Regions from separate parts of the Homo sapiens genome. Here region 2 is linked to region 1. Evidence: promoter capture Hi-C in human tissues and cell types (Jung and others, 2019). All regions are on one chromosome and are shown on one strand. Each heading gives the region's core, a stretch centred on a gene start or on the middle of the fragment in contact. The rest is flanking DNA. Distances are from core to core; before and after follow the strand shown.

Region 1 (2,832 bases), core at 333-2,832:
CCCTGGAGGCGGAGGTTGCAGTGAGCTGAGATTGCGCCATTGCACTCCAGCCTGAGCAACAAGAGCGAAACTCCGTCTAAAAACAAAAGGGACAGAGAGTGATATTGCTGAGATCACAAAAGGGAGGTGACTCAGTCCTAGCCCAGCCTGCTGTCATCTCTCCTATACCCACCCCCTCCCCCACTCCCCCGCCTGACGTTATAAACAAGTGACTCAGAGGAATGATGGGGGTGTGTCTCATAATAGTTCATTCCAATGTCCTGGGGGCTAAATTTAACACACAGCTGCAGCCTCTGGCACTTTGGGAACAAGTTAATCTTGGTGACTGAGGCTGATGTGTGTGTGTGTGTGTGTGTGTGTGTGTCTGGTGGTGGGGCGGGGTGGGGAGGGTGTGGGGAGGGGTGTCAGTAGTCTAGAACAAGGTAGGCATCAAGACTGGCTGTCCTGGGCTTCAACCCTGGTCCCTCAGACCATAGACAAGGTGCAGGGGCCCCATGGCCAGGCAGTCTCAGGTCTGGCCTAATATGCACCAAGAATAGTGAGTATAGATAGCTAAAGTCCTGAAATATTAAACTTGTAGTGTTACTTTTTGAACACTAGAATTCAGAATGTCACTCCCTAGAATGTTAAAACCCCGGGGGTTTAAAAACCTAGAATAGTAGAATCCTAAGAAATTAATTTGCTAGCACATCTGACACCTTAGAAGTGTTAAAACTAATAGTGTACTCCCAGGACACAGTACCTTGGTGCTTCTAAACTTCCAGCAGAGTTGAACTGAGGTCCTTAGCATCTAACTTTGCCACCTCCTCATTGTGTAGGAAGGGAAACTGTGGCTTAACAGAGCGACATGCCCTGCCCCAGGCCTCATAGGAAAGTGGCAACCTTGTTTACCTAAGGTACCTTCTTGCTTTCTTGCAAGGAGGAGGGACAGAAAGAGGAAAAGCTCTTCCCATTTTAAAGGTGAGGCAACGGGGGTGGTGTCTTATGTCTGTAATCTCAGCTACGAGGGAGGCTGAGGCAGAAGAATGGCTTGATCCCAGGAGTTCAAGTCCAGGCTGGACAACATAGTGAGACCCTGCCTCTTAAAATAAAGGCAGGGCAACAGGGCCGCCAAAAAGTGAACACCATGTCCAACTTCTGACCAGAAAACCCAAGCACCCTGTATCCAGGGGTAGCTGGAGTGAGACATATTCCGGGGGGGAAGATGGAGGCACCAGGACAGAAGTTCCCAGAAAGCATGAAGGAAGGGAGACCCTGGAAGAGAGGCTCCAGTGCTTTCCCGTCTCTGGACTGAGGGTCAGAGCTTAGGCCACCTTCTCCCCTAGGGGCATCTCCTGACCAAAGAATCCAGAGTCAAGACCTCTCCGTGCTCCATTTAGAAATGAGGCAGCCAGGCCCTCATCTTTCAGAAGGGCCCAGACACCCCACCCCCGTCCCATAAGCCCCCGGGGCTGAGTCAAGTCTTTCTCTGGGAGGGGGCCTCTGCCCAGCTGTCCCCTGTGCGTCATGTGCAGGAGGCCAGGCGGCTCGCCTTACAGGGACCCGGCCACCTCTATATATAGCCCCTCGAAGACAGCTGCTCAGTCTAAGCAAACCCCAGCAGGAAAGCAGGGGTACAGAGAGGAGCCCCCTTGGCACCGCCACCGCACCCTAGGCCACCCACCATGGCGCTGGGCTTGGAGCAGGCGGAGGAGCAGCGGTTGTACCAGCAGACGCTCCTGCAAGACGGGCTCAAAGACATGCTGGACCATGGCAAGTTCCTCGACTGTGTGGTGCGGGCGGGCGAGCGCGAGTTCCCGTGCCATCGCCTGGTGCTGGCCGCCTGCAGCCCCTACTTCCGGGCGCGCTTTCTAGCCGAGCCGGAGCGCGCGGGCGAGCTGCACCTGGAGGAGGTGTCCCCGGACGTGGTGGCCCAGGTGCTGCACTACCTGTACACATCAGAGATCGCGCTGGATGAGGCGAGCGTGCAGGATTTGTTCGCCGCGGCACACCGCTTCCAGATCCCTTCCATCTTCACCATCTGCGTGTCCTTCCTGCAGAAGCGCCTGTGCCTCTCCAACTGCTTGGCCGTCTTCCGTCTCGGCCTCCTGCTCGACTGCGCGCGTCTCGCCGTGGCTGCCCGCGACTTCATCTGCGCTCACTTCACGCTGGTGGCGCGCGACGCTGACTTCCTCGGACTCTCGGCCGACGAGCTCATCGCCATCATCTCCAGCGACGGCCTTAACGTGGAGAAGGAGGAGGCAGTGTTCGAGGCGGTGATGCGGTGGGCGGGTAGCGGCGACGCCGAGGCGCAGGCTGAGCGCCAGCGCGCGCTGCCCACCGTCTTCGAGAGCGTGCGCTGCCGCTTGCTGCCGCGCGCCTTTCTGGAAAGCCGCGTGGAGCGCCACCCTCTCGTGCGTGCCCAGCCCGAGTTGCTGCGCAAGGTGCAGATGGTGAAGGATGCACACGAGGGCCGCATCACCACGCTGCGGAAGAAAAAGAAGGGGAAGGATGGAGCCGGGGCCAAGGAGGCTGATAAGGGCACAAGCAAAGCCAAAGCAGAGGAGGATGAGGAGGCCGAACGTATCCTTCCTGGGATCCTCAATGACACCCTGCGCTTCGGCATGTTCCTGCAGGATCTCATCTTCATGATCAGTGAGGAGGGCGCTGTGGCCTACGATCCAGCAGCCAACGAGTGCTACTGTGCTTCCCTCTCCAACCAGGTCCCCAAGAACCACGTCAGCCTGGTTACCAAGGAGAACCAGGTCTTCGTGGCTGGAGGCCTCTTCTACAACGAAGACAACAAAGAGGACCCCATGAGCGCATACTTCCTGCAGGTGCCTGACCAGCCTT
Region 2 (5,211 bases), core at 1,304-3,803, 76 kb after region 1:
CCCCAAAATCCTCCTTTGTGCCCTTTTGCAGTCAATTTCCAGCCAATCCCAATCCCAATCCCAGGCAAACTCTGGTCTGCTTTTGTTCACTACAGTTTTGCCTTTTCTGGAATTTCATATAACTAGAATCATACAGTCGTTAGCCTTTTGTGTCTGGCTTCTTTTTTGCTCAGCACTACCTTTTTGAGATTCATCAATGTCATTGCACACATTATAAGCTCATTCGTTTTTATTACTGAGTAATATTACCTTGTTTAAATAAACAAGAATTTGATTATACATTCACTTGTTATTGGACATCTGAGCTGTTTCCAGTTTTGGCTATTATGAATAAAGCCGTTATGAACATTCATGTATAAGAAGGTATTTGTGTGAATGTATGTTTTTATTTCTCTTGGGTAAATACATAGAAGTGAAAATTCTGGCTTATATGGTAATTTATGTTTAACTTCATAAGAAACTGCTAAACTGTTTGCCAGAGTGGTTGTACCATTTTACATTCTTACTAGCAATGGGAGTCCCAGTTGCGCCATCCTCGTCAGCATTTAGGCTAGTCAGTCTAAATTTTAGACTTTCTCATTAGTATGTAAAATGGTATCTCAGCCGGGCATGGTGGCTCATCCCTGTAATCCCATCCCTCTAGGAGGCCGAGGTGGGTGGATAAACTGAGGTCAGGAATTCGAGACTAGCCTGACCAACATGATGAAACCCCATCTCTACTAAAAATACAAAATTAGCCAGGCGTGGTGACATGTGCCTGTAATCCCTGCTACTCGGGAGGTTGAGTCAGGAGAATTGCTTGAACCCAGGAGGCAGAGGTTGCAGTGAGCTGAGATCATGCCATTGCACTCCAGCCTGGGCAACAAGAGCAAAATTCTTGTCTCTAAATAAATAAATAAATAAATAAATAAATAAATAAATAAATAGGCAGGGCACAGTGGCTCATGCCTGTAATCCCAACACTTTGGGAGGCTGAGGTGGGTGGATCACCGGAGTTCAGAAGTTTGAGACAAGTCTGGCCAAAATGGAGAAACCCCATCTCTACTAAAAATACAAAAATTAGCTGGGTGTGGTGACACAGGCCTGTAATCCCAGTTACTCAGGAGGCTAAGGCAGGAGAATCACTTGAACCTGGGAGGCAGAGGTTGCAGTGAGTCAAGATTGAGCCATTGCACTCCAGCCTGGGCGAGGTTGCAGTGAGCCAAGATTGCGCCATGGCACTCCAGCCTGGGCGAGGTTGCAGTGAGCCAAGATTGCGCCATGGCACTCCAGCCTGGCCGAGGTTGCAGTGAGCCAAGATTGCGCCATTGCATTCCAACCTGGGTGACAGAGCAAGACTCTGTCTCAAAATAAATAAATAAATAAAATATAAATAAATTAATTAATTAAAATAAAATAAAAATAAAATGGTATCTCAATGTGTTTTTAATTTGTATTTCTCTGTTGACTAGTTATGTTGAGCATCTTTTCATGTGCTTGTTGACCATGTGTATATCTTCTTTTGTGATGTGTCTATTCACATTTTTTGCCCATTTTTAAATTGTATTAGACAATACAATTTACAGTCACAATACAATCACTCACTGTTACTGAATGATCAGTTTCTTGTACATTCTTGATACTTTGTCTGTTTGAACTTCACATAAATGAAATAATAGAGCACAGACACTGGAATTATTAAATGCTCCCCTCACGATTTTAAAGTGTAGCCAGTGGTAAGCATCCCTGCCTTAAACCAACCTCAAGCCACATCATCTACCTATCATCCAATTAATCATAAATCTTGTTTATTTTCCATAAATGTCCTAAAATCTGCCCCCATGTCTCCATTCCCACTGATACCAGGCTCATAACCACCTTGGGGTATCTGCACTTGCTGTTACCTCTCCAGGAATGTCCTTCCCCCAGACATCTACCTTACCTACTTCCTCTCAAATGTCACCTTATCACAGAGGTCTCCTCATATCCTATTGTAGAAGGCATCCCTGCCCTCGCTCCCCATGCCCTTGCCCTGTTTTGTCTTCCTCCATGGCACTGAGAGTCATCTGACACATTATATTTTGATTTGTTTACTTGTTGACTGCCTCTCTCCCTCCCCACCAGCTTCACAATGGCAGGCACTGTGTTGTTCATTGCTGTATCCTCAGTGCCTGTAGCAGGGCCTGGTATATGGCAGGCATGGAATGAATACTTGCTGAACAAATGAATAACATTTGCTGAGGGACAAGTTTCTCTAAACCACAGCTCTGAGCCTGACAGACTCCTGTGCAAAAAGCTTCAGCAGATGCCCCTTAGCCACAAAGCCAAGTCCAATGGCATTAAGCGCTTTGGATTTGGCCTCTGTGTCCTTCTAGCCTGTTTTCCCTTTCATAATGCTAACTTCTAGCTAGTTGTGTTGACTTGCTCCTCTGTTCCTATACCTCCTTCTCCCCCCAAGGCTTAAATCTTGCTGGTCCTCCTACACCCAGCATGAATACCATGGTCCTTTTCTGACCCGCCAGGAGGAATACTCTACCTACCCAAACAGCTTCAACTGCTCTATCTGTACCTTCTTAATATACTTATCTCCATCTCACACACAGGGGTGGTCCCAGAGCCTGTACCCAGTTACTCTTAAACTTGCTTCAATACCAAATCCCCAGGATACAATCTAAAAATGCTGATAACCAGGCCCACCCCTAGAGAATCTGATTTAAATTAGTCTGGAGTGGAGACCAAGCATGGGATGGTTTAACTGCTGCCCAGCTGGTTTTAATGTGCTGTGGGCTGAGCCCAGGGTTTGGCAAAGGTCAAACAAAAGCAGAAGCTGGTGTTATGTTGAAATTCCTTACCAGGCAGCTCTGCCCAGTAAGAGGAACTATAAAGAATTAACTCTGAAAACCTGTATTGTGCACACCCGCACATTCCAAAAAACATGTTTGGCCTTTGACCCGCTCCTAAGAGAGAATCTCTGAGCCCTTGGACCATCCTTCCTGATGAGAGTGTTTTTCTTCACCTGGGGACCTTGGGCCATTCCAGTCCATGTTAATTAACAATGTGATTCATTGCCAGGTGCAGGGTAGGCTGGAGGGGGCTGGAGATCGAGTGACTAAGGTCAACTGTACCTACGTAACCATCTCCTAATAAAAACCCTGGACACCAAGACTCAGGGGAGCTTCCCTGGCTGGCAGTACTCCATGTAAGTTGCCACGAATTGTTTCTGGGAGAAGTAAGTACTGTCAACATGACTCCACTGGGAGAAGACAACTGGAAGCTTGCACCTGGTGTCTCCTGGACTCTGCCCTATGTGTCTCTTTGCTGATTTTGACCCGTATTCTTTCATTGTAATAAACAATACATGTGAGTATAATAGCTGGCCCAAAGGCTATATCCTTTGTTAAAAGATAAACGTTAGGCCAGGCATGATGGCTCACACCTGTAATCCCAGCACTTTGGAAGGCCAAGGTGGAAGCACAGCTTGAGCCCAGGAGGTTGAGACTACAATGAGCTGTGATCGCGCCACTGCACTCTAACCTGGGTGACAGTCAGACCCTGTCTCCAAAATAAAAAAAGAAAAACTTTAAACAAATCAAATTTAACAGAATTCAACTGAGCAAAGAATGATTCACAAATCTAGCAGCCCCCAGAACCAGAACAGATTCAGAGTGACTCCAGGGCTGCCACCTAGTCGAAAAAGATTTATGAACAGAAAAAGGAAAGTGATGAACAGAAAGCACAAGTGAGGTACAGAAACAGCTAGACTGATTACAGCTGGCTGTTTGCCTTTTTTGAATACAATTTGAATAGCTGGCTGCCTGTGATTGGCTGAAACTCTGTGACTGGTACAAGAGTAGATTGCAGTCTGTTTAAATTCCTAGTCAGGTTACAGTTTACTACGTACAGAGAAACCTTTAGGCTGAACTTAGAATATATAAGAAGGCAGCTTTAGGCTACAGTTAGTTTAACACATCCCACAGACATTTTTGTTTGGCTCTTACAGAACACTATGTTAGGATTTGAATTTGTTGCCAACATTCAAAGAATTGTAGTTTCAATATCAGATTTCCAGTGTCAACAAAAACAGTCAAACTCTGTAAAATATTTGAAGAGATGTACTTTTTTTTTTTTTTTTTTTTAGATGAAGTCTCGCTCTGTCACCCAGGCTGGAGCGCAGTGGCACAATCTTGGCTCACTGCAACCTCTGCCTCCTGGGCTCAAGCAATTCTCCTGCCTCAGCCTTCTGAGTTGCTGGGACTACAGGCATGCACCACCACACCCAGATAATTTTTGTATGTTTTTGTAGAGACATGGTTTCACCATGTTGGCCAGGCTGGTCTTGAACTCCTGATCTCAAGTGATCCACCCACCTCAGCCTCCCAAAGTGCTGGGATCACAGGTGTGAGCCACTGCACCCAGTCTGAAGAGATTTATTCTGAGCCAAATGTGAGTGATCATGGCCTGTGACACAGCCCTCAGGAGATCCTGAGACCACGTGCCCAAGGTGGTCAGGGCACAGCTTGGTTTTATACATTTCAGGCAGACCTGAGACATCAATCAAATACATTTAAGATATATACCGATTTGGTCCAGAAAAGCAGGACAACTCCAAGGTTGGGAGGGGGGAGCTTCCAGGTGATAAGTAGATTTAAAATTTTTCTGATTGGTAATTGGTTAAAAGAGTTACTATAAATAGAAAGGAATATCTGGGTTAGAATAAAAGAGATAAAAGTTTTGATCATGCAAATGAAGCCTCCAGGTAGCAGGCTTCAGAGAGAATAGATTGTAAATGTTTCTTATCAGACTTAAGGTCTGTGTTGATGTTAAATGTTGGTCAACTTTTCCTGAATTCCAAAAGGGAGGAGGGTATAATGAGGCGTGTCCAACCCTTGCTTCCCATCAAGGCCTGAACTGGTCTTTCAGGTTAACTTTGGAGTGCCCTGGCTGAGAAGGAAGTCCATTCAGATGGATGGGGGGCCTCTGAATTTTATGTTTAGTTTACACCAGCTTCTTTTATAAAAGTTTACAGATCTGGCAATGCTGGGCCCATCGTCCCACACGGACAGCAGCTGCTATGCAGAGAGTTCCTTTGGTGCATAATAGGTTCTTTCCATTAAACCACTGTCCCTGCCACCTCCAGATGCTGCAGCTGGCACATCAGCTGCCCATTATCACTGCACATAAATGTTGTTCTTTCTCTTAAACCTGCTGGATTCACTTTTATTTCCCATCAGC

The links. Contacts are between HindIII fragments. The study calls those that stand out against the background at their distance.
Region 2: a fragment that was not itself captured here is called in contact with the fragment with the promoter of KLHL40 in region 1 in 2 of the 25 tissues and cell types used here (dorsolateral prefrontal cortex and spleen).

What each region holds. Positions count from the first base shown.
Region 1 is chr3:42,683,955-42,686,786 of GRCh38, forward strand. It overlaps KLHL40 (kelch like family member 40), which reads left to right and starts at 1,583. Exons shown (of 6, transcript NM_152393.4): 1 at 1,583-2,816. The coding sequence starts at 1,665. RefSeq lists enhancers at 1-240, 63-357. The HindIII fragment of the contact is 17,953 bases long and covers 1-2,832 here.
Region 2 is chr3:42,759,409-42,764,619 of GRCh38, forward strand. The region is part of intron 1 of CCDC13 (coiled-coil domain containing 13); the gene reads right to left. Among named protein-coding and RNA genes, the nearest start is that of CCDC13-AS2, 8.6 kb to the right of the region's middle. The HindIII fragment of the contact is 3,761 bases long and covers 674-4,434 here.